2 separate regions of the Homo sapiens genome follow, and region 1 is linked to region 2. Evidence: promoter capture Hi-C in human tissues and cell types (Jung and others, 2019). All regions are on one chromosome and are shown on one strand. Each heading gives the region's core, a stretch centred on a gene start or on the middle of the fragment in contact. The rest is flanking DNA. Distances are from core to core; before and after follow the strand shown. Region 1 overlaps CCDC30 (coiled-coil domain containing 30). Region 2 holds the start of CCDC30 (coiled-coil domain containing 30).

The links. The method cuts DNA at HindIII sites, captures the fragments that hold promoters and counts their contacts. A contact is called where the count stands out against the background at its distance.
Region 1: a contact is called between a fragment that was not itself captured here and the fragment with the promoter of CCDC30 in region 2, in 1 of the 25 tissues and cell types used here (pancreas).

Annotation. Positions count from the first base shown.
Region 1 is chr1:42,502,569-42,505,566 of GRCh38, reverse strand. The region is part of intron 6 of CCDC30 (coiled-coil domain containing 30); the gene reads right to left. Among named protein-coding and RNA genes, the nearest start is that of CCDC30, 41 kb to the right of the region's middle. The HindIII fragment of the contact is 3,216 bases long and covers 1-2,957 here.
Region 2 is chr1:42,461,871-42,464,605 of GRCh38, reverse strand. CCDC30 (coiled-coil domain containing 30) reads right to left here and starts at 1,320. Exons shown (of 21, transcript NM_001395517.1): 1 at 708-1,320. It also overlaps a transcript of PPCS not described here. RefSeq lists a silencer at 1,374-1,423. The HindIII fragment of the contact is 7,916 bases long and covers 1-2,735 here.

The sequences.
Region 1 (2,998 bases), core at 100-2,599, 41 kb before region 2:
GTATATGACTAAACTTTATTCTACAAACAACATGGTCCTATCATAATTTGTTTTTACTGAAAATGAGGACTAGAGAGAAAAAAATTATGCTCCAAAACTTATACATTTGTCATTAAATTCTAGTTTCATTGGTTATTTTTAAGTTTTTTTTCCCTACATTTTAGGCTAGCCCTGCTTATTCTTGTGAATCAAGTAATGATTTCCTGCAGCTTGGGAAAAAGAAAAATGTATGGGTAATGTAAAAATCTGGATCAATTATCCTGCAAATAATTGGCCAGATAGTTCTGGCCAATTATCCTGCAAATCCTGCCATGTAATAAAAGTGAGTAGGTTGCTCATAACGCAGAAATTTCTTTAGGAAAATAAAACCAAGGAACTTCATAGACCTTCCAAAAGGGAAATTCTATATCTTGGCAACTAAAATTTTAGATGGAAATGATCTACTACACCACCCTTGTGGGAATCGCTACACACACTCTACTATTTGTGGTAGAGTTATACATGGTAGCACCTTCTAACTGAAATATTGGACAGAGAGTTTCCACTGCTGTAGTATTTTGCTTAATTATTATCCTTATAGCAGGAATAATAGCTACTGACAAGAGGTAAACATGAAGGTTTCACTATTGCTGAGTCCACCAGGACTTTTTATTGGGTTTGGTAATATGTCACACCCTAGCTATGCAAAGAAGTTTATAAAGAAAATAGATTTTATATAAGAAAGGATCTTGTATGGTAAAATTTTATCCTGAAGAGAATAACTGCTTGTTTAAAAAGAGGGATGTTTAGGAAAAGTCAGAAAGTTTAAACATGTCATAAACGGTCTGTGGAAGTCACAAAAGAATTAATAATTGCAGGAAAGATTTAGCCAAGGTTAACACTAGTTACTCTAGCCACCCAAATCCAATGCCACTTATCCTTTTATACTAACATTATTAACATTTGTTAATGTTACTTTTATATTAACACTATTAACATTTCAGCAGCATCTGGTGGAGGCAAATGAGTATTACAACCCATTGGAATGGCAGATAGCAATCAAACTCCAAATGGTGCTGCAGACAGAACCATGCATCGACATGCCTTTCTTCTGAGGACCCTAAGAGAAGCCCCAGCTGGTGTTCTCCACAGGGCACCCCTTTTCTGCAGAAAGTAGTGAGAAAGAGTCATCACCTAAAACCCCTTGATAACAGGTGTTGGGAACAAGCCCCCTGAAATCTGGCCCCAAAACTGACCATAAACAAAATCTCTGCTGCACTGTGACATGTTCATCATGGCCATAATGCCCACGCTGGAAGGTGGTGGGCTTACCGGAATGAGGGCAAGGAACATGCCCTCATGTTTTGGCCCACCCAGGGCGGAAAACCGCTTAAAGGCATTCTTAAGCCACAAACAATAGCATGAGCGATCTGTGCCTTAAGGACATGCTCCTGCTGCAGTTAACTAGCCCAACCTATTCCTTTAATTTAGCCCATCCCTTCGTTTCCCATAAGGGATACTTTTAGTTAATTTAATATCTGTAGAAACAATGCTAATGACTGGCTTGCTGTTAATAAATATGTGGGTAAATCTCTGTTCGGGGCTCTCAGCTCTGAAGGCTGTGAGACCCCTGCTTTCCCACTTCACACCTCTATATTTCTGTGTGTGTGTCTTTAATTCCTCTAGCGCCACTGGGTGAGGGTCTCCCTGACTGAGCTGGTCTCCACAGTTAGGGTTACCACTCCTGAGGGGGGAATAAGATAGGAGTTAAAAAGAAATTATTTAGGCAGATAGTGAGGGTAAGGAAGTCCTCATTAAGGTTTTAATTTTAATGAAAAGCAGCCCCCAAATCATTTTCTTCTCTAACAAAGAGCAGCCTGTAAAATTGAGCTGCAGACATAGACAAATAAGCTGGAAGCTTGCAAAGGTGAATGCCAGCAGTTGTGCCAATAGGAAAAGGCTACCTGGGACTAGGCATGATCAAAATGGCAGCTCCATCTTCTCTTCTCTTTGCCAGCCACGTGTACAGTATGGAGCAGACAAGATGGCGCTGGCCAAGTAGAAAGCCCATTTGCATATTAAGATTAGGGTGGGGTGACAAGCCTTCCCCACATGCTATGTAAACGTCACACCTAGTTGAACCAATCTGTAGGCCCTACATAAATCAGACACTGCCTCCTCAAGCTTGCCTATAAAATCTGATGCAGTCTGCTGCAGGCCAGCTTTTATCTTTTGGATGCCCCTCTCTCTCACAAAAGAGAAAGCTGCTCTCCTCTCTCTTTTCCTCTGCCTATTAAACTTTCCACTCCTTAGCCCACCCACGTGTGTCTCTGTCTTTAATCTTCTTAGTGTAAGATGACGAACCCCAGGTATTTACCCCTGACAACAATGCCACTTCACTAAGGGTGGGGTGTACTGGCTCATGTCTATAATCCCAGCATTTTGGGAGGCCAAGTGGAATGATTGCTTGAGCTCAGGAGTTTGAAACTAGCCTGGGTGACATAGCCAGACCTTGTCTTTACTAAAAAATCACAAAAATTAGTTGAGTGTGGTGGTGCGCATTTATAGTCCTAGCTACTCAGGAGGCTGAGGTGGGAAAATTGCTTGAGCCTGGAAGGTCAAGGCTGCAGTGAGCATGCACTCCAGCCTGGGTGACAGAGTGAGACCCTGTCTCAAAAAGAAAATCCATACAATAAAATAGTCAGCCACAGAAAGGGATAAAGTACTAATTCATACTACAATATGAACTTTGAAAACATTATGCTAAGTGAAAGAAGGCAGACACAAATGTCCACATATTGTATGGTTCCACTTATGTAAAATGTACAAGATAGCCAAATTCAAAGGCAGAAAGTACTTTAGTGGTTGCCAGAGGCTGGGGGGAGGGGGCAGGTAGAAAAATAAGAAATGGATACTAATGGATAATGGATAGAGTTTCTCTCTTGGGGGATAAAAATTTCCTGACAAGAATTCACGAGGGAGGTTCCAAGATGGCCGAATAGGAACAGCTCCAGTCTAC
Region 2 (2,735 bases), core at 71-2,570:
AACAATTGTGTCTGCTCCCTTGCCAAAAATATTTATTTTCAATCACTCCTTATTGTTTTCATTTATTGGCTTACATCACAAAGAATGTTTTCTGATTCAGAAATTGACAGGAAAAGAAGGCACAAGTACTATTTCAATCATCTCCTCTCCAGAAAATTACATCATATCCCCAGTGTTGGGTTCATATGGGCTTAAAGTTGAAATCCTGTCTTACATGATCACTTTGAATGCCCTTTTCACATTGATAAACACATCAATAAAATTTAATGAAACAAGGAACAACCTTCTTTCATTATGTAAGCCTGAAATGGGTCCAATACTGCAATTTTGATTTTTTTTTCCATTTTCAAAACACACTAGACCTACAGTATTTAATGTTTATATTTACCAATTTGCACTTCTCCTAGTCTCTAGTTTACCCAAGACTGAAAGGTTGCCATAGTGCAAAGAAAAACAGAAAATCTTCCCAATGACTGCAGAGCTGGAGAATGCGAAATACTTAGGTACGCAAAGCATTGTAGCAGGAAAGCAGAAGGAGGTGGTCTATAGATGACAGAGGTGGTGCAGACAAATGGACATTCAATAATGTGCAGCGTGAACAGGGAAAAGTTAAAATGGCTGTGAAATAAGCAGGATGAGAAAGCTGGTGCTTGGAGTGATGAGAGAAGTGGAAAAAGTTGTAGCTTGAAAGGCAGAAGGTAACTGACTTCATGACCTCTGATGTTGAGGATACAAAAGGCCTCCAAATCTTCATCGGGATTCAAGGTTCTGCATGACGAACATCGGCCAAAAAAAATCAGAAAACGGTAGTTCTTTGTTCGCGGGCCTACACGTAGGGGAAAGCTGCCCCTCCGTGGACTTCGTAGTGGCCTGGACCTTCGGGCGTTGTCTGTCCAGGGGCGCGTCTCGACACCTCACCTTTAAGTGAGAAAAGGAACGCCGACCTACCTCGCTGAGGATGTTCTAAGCCCGCTCTAATAATAAGCGGCAGCCTAATACTAAATGCTTGTGGCAGCTGGGTCCGGGGAAAACGGGCGAATTCTCCTTCAGGCGGAATCACTCCAGCCAGGGAATAGAAAGGCCGGGCCAGGAGGGGTTCCCCTCCTGTAGTTTCGGACCATACTGGGGAGAAGCAGAAAAGGCCCGTAATGCGGAAAAGAGGGGAGAATGGGTGCTTTCCTCCTTGGGGCTGAGGCAGGAACCTCAAGAACCAAGTCGGAAATTTTCCTGCGGAGGGTGCCGCGAGCGTCCCGGGGTCGCTCGGCCCCTACGCGCTCAGCTGCTAGCTGCAGGTGCCTACGGAGACCTGGGCGTCATAGCAACCGCGCTCGCCGCAGAGACGCAGACGCGTCCTTCCGGCGGGAACCATAGAGACGACGCACGCCAGTGGAACCAGAGACTGTGGTTCTTGTGGAGACTGTTATTATGTCTCACACCATTGGCCTTCGGGTCGGGGGCGGAGTTGTCCCGGCCGTATCGATAGTACAACTCATTCCATTGGCTTTGGAGACAGCTGTAACCATGGTAACATGTCGAGCGTTTGCGACTTAGCGAATACATTTTGTCTTGGGGCGTTCTAGCTCTCAAAGAACTTCCCGCCAGGACTCAGCTGGAGCCCCTGCCTACTAACCTTGGATTTATTTTTCTACAAGTTCCTTCATTCTTAAAGGGGCAGGAAGTGCTAGCTCAAGAGCTCTGAATTTTAGGCCTAGATCGTGTCACTAGCCACGTGGGGCACGTAAGATAAATCACAATTTTTGGATCCAGCTTATTATTGTAAAAAGGAAGAAACTGGGCTTGACTAGAATTGTCCCTAAGGCTGAAGCCCTTTAGAAGTCCTAAGCACTGAAAATTCAGGTAAGATGAACGTTATCTTCCCCACCTATGTAATGCAAAATAAAAACTTATAAATGACACAAAATTTAACATACTCAATTTATATCATCTTTTTAGATGCTCTTATTGCAAAATTCTAGTTAATTATCAAACTCGATTTTAGTCATGTTTTGGGGGCCCTTGCTTTGCTGGTATCCCAAACACAACATTTCTTGGTCTTACTCTAGTTCCCCAAGAGAATACTTCACAAATTTTTGCTGGTTCTACATGCATTATCCGGACGTATTTTACTCTTTATATAATAAAGTGCCTCAACCTCTCCTTCTGGCACTAGACCTCTTGCAAGTGTTTTTTTCTGAACTAAAAGGCTCACCACCAGCACTTGTAGCCCACTTCACTCCTGTTTATCAGTTTAAGTATCACCTACTCAGGGAGACATTCCTTGATCCTCCATCCAAGATCAGGTTCTTAGTTACCCTCATTGACTCATGTTCCTTTTCTTTATACACTTCCATTTGCTATTAAAACACACACACACACTCTCCCCCACCCCCCTGGAATTTTTACTTGTGTAAATAATCTAAGTGCTCTGAATATAAATTAAACTGAAGTGGAAAACACTAAATAATTTCATGTAGAACACTGATTGTTTTTAAGCGTTAACAAGACAGGATATAAAATTCCCAAGGGAGGTAATAATTATGGTAAAGACAAACATTAAGATCACTTCTACTTTTAACCCCATATATCCCCATTGTACATTCAAAGATGACAGTCATCATCCACATAAAGCTATGAATGCAGAGAAGAACATATTCTACTTCTTGCCCTTCAGTACTGCAGCCACTGACAGAGCCCACTGCTTTTGGGGTTTTGCAAATTGGACCTGAAGTTCACTT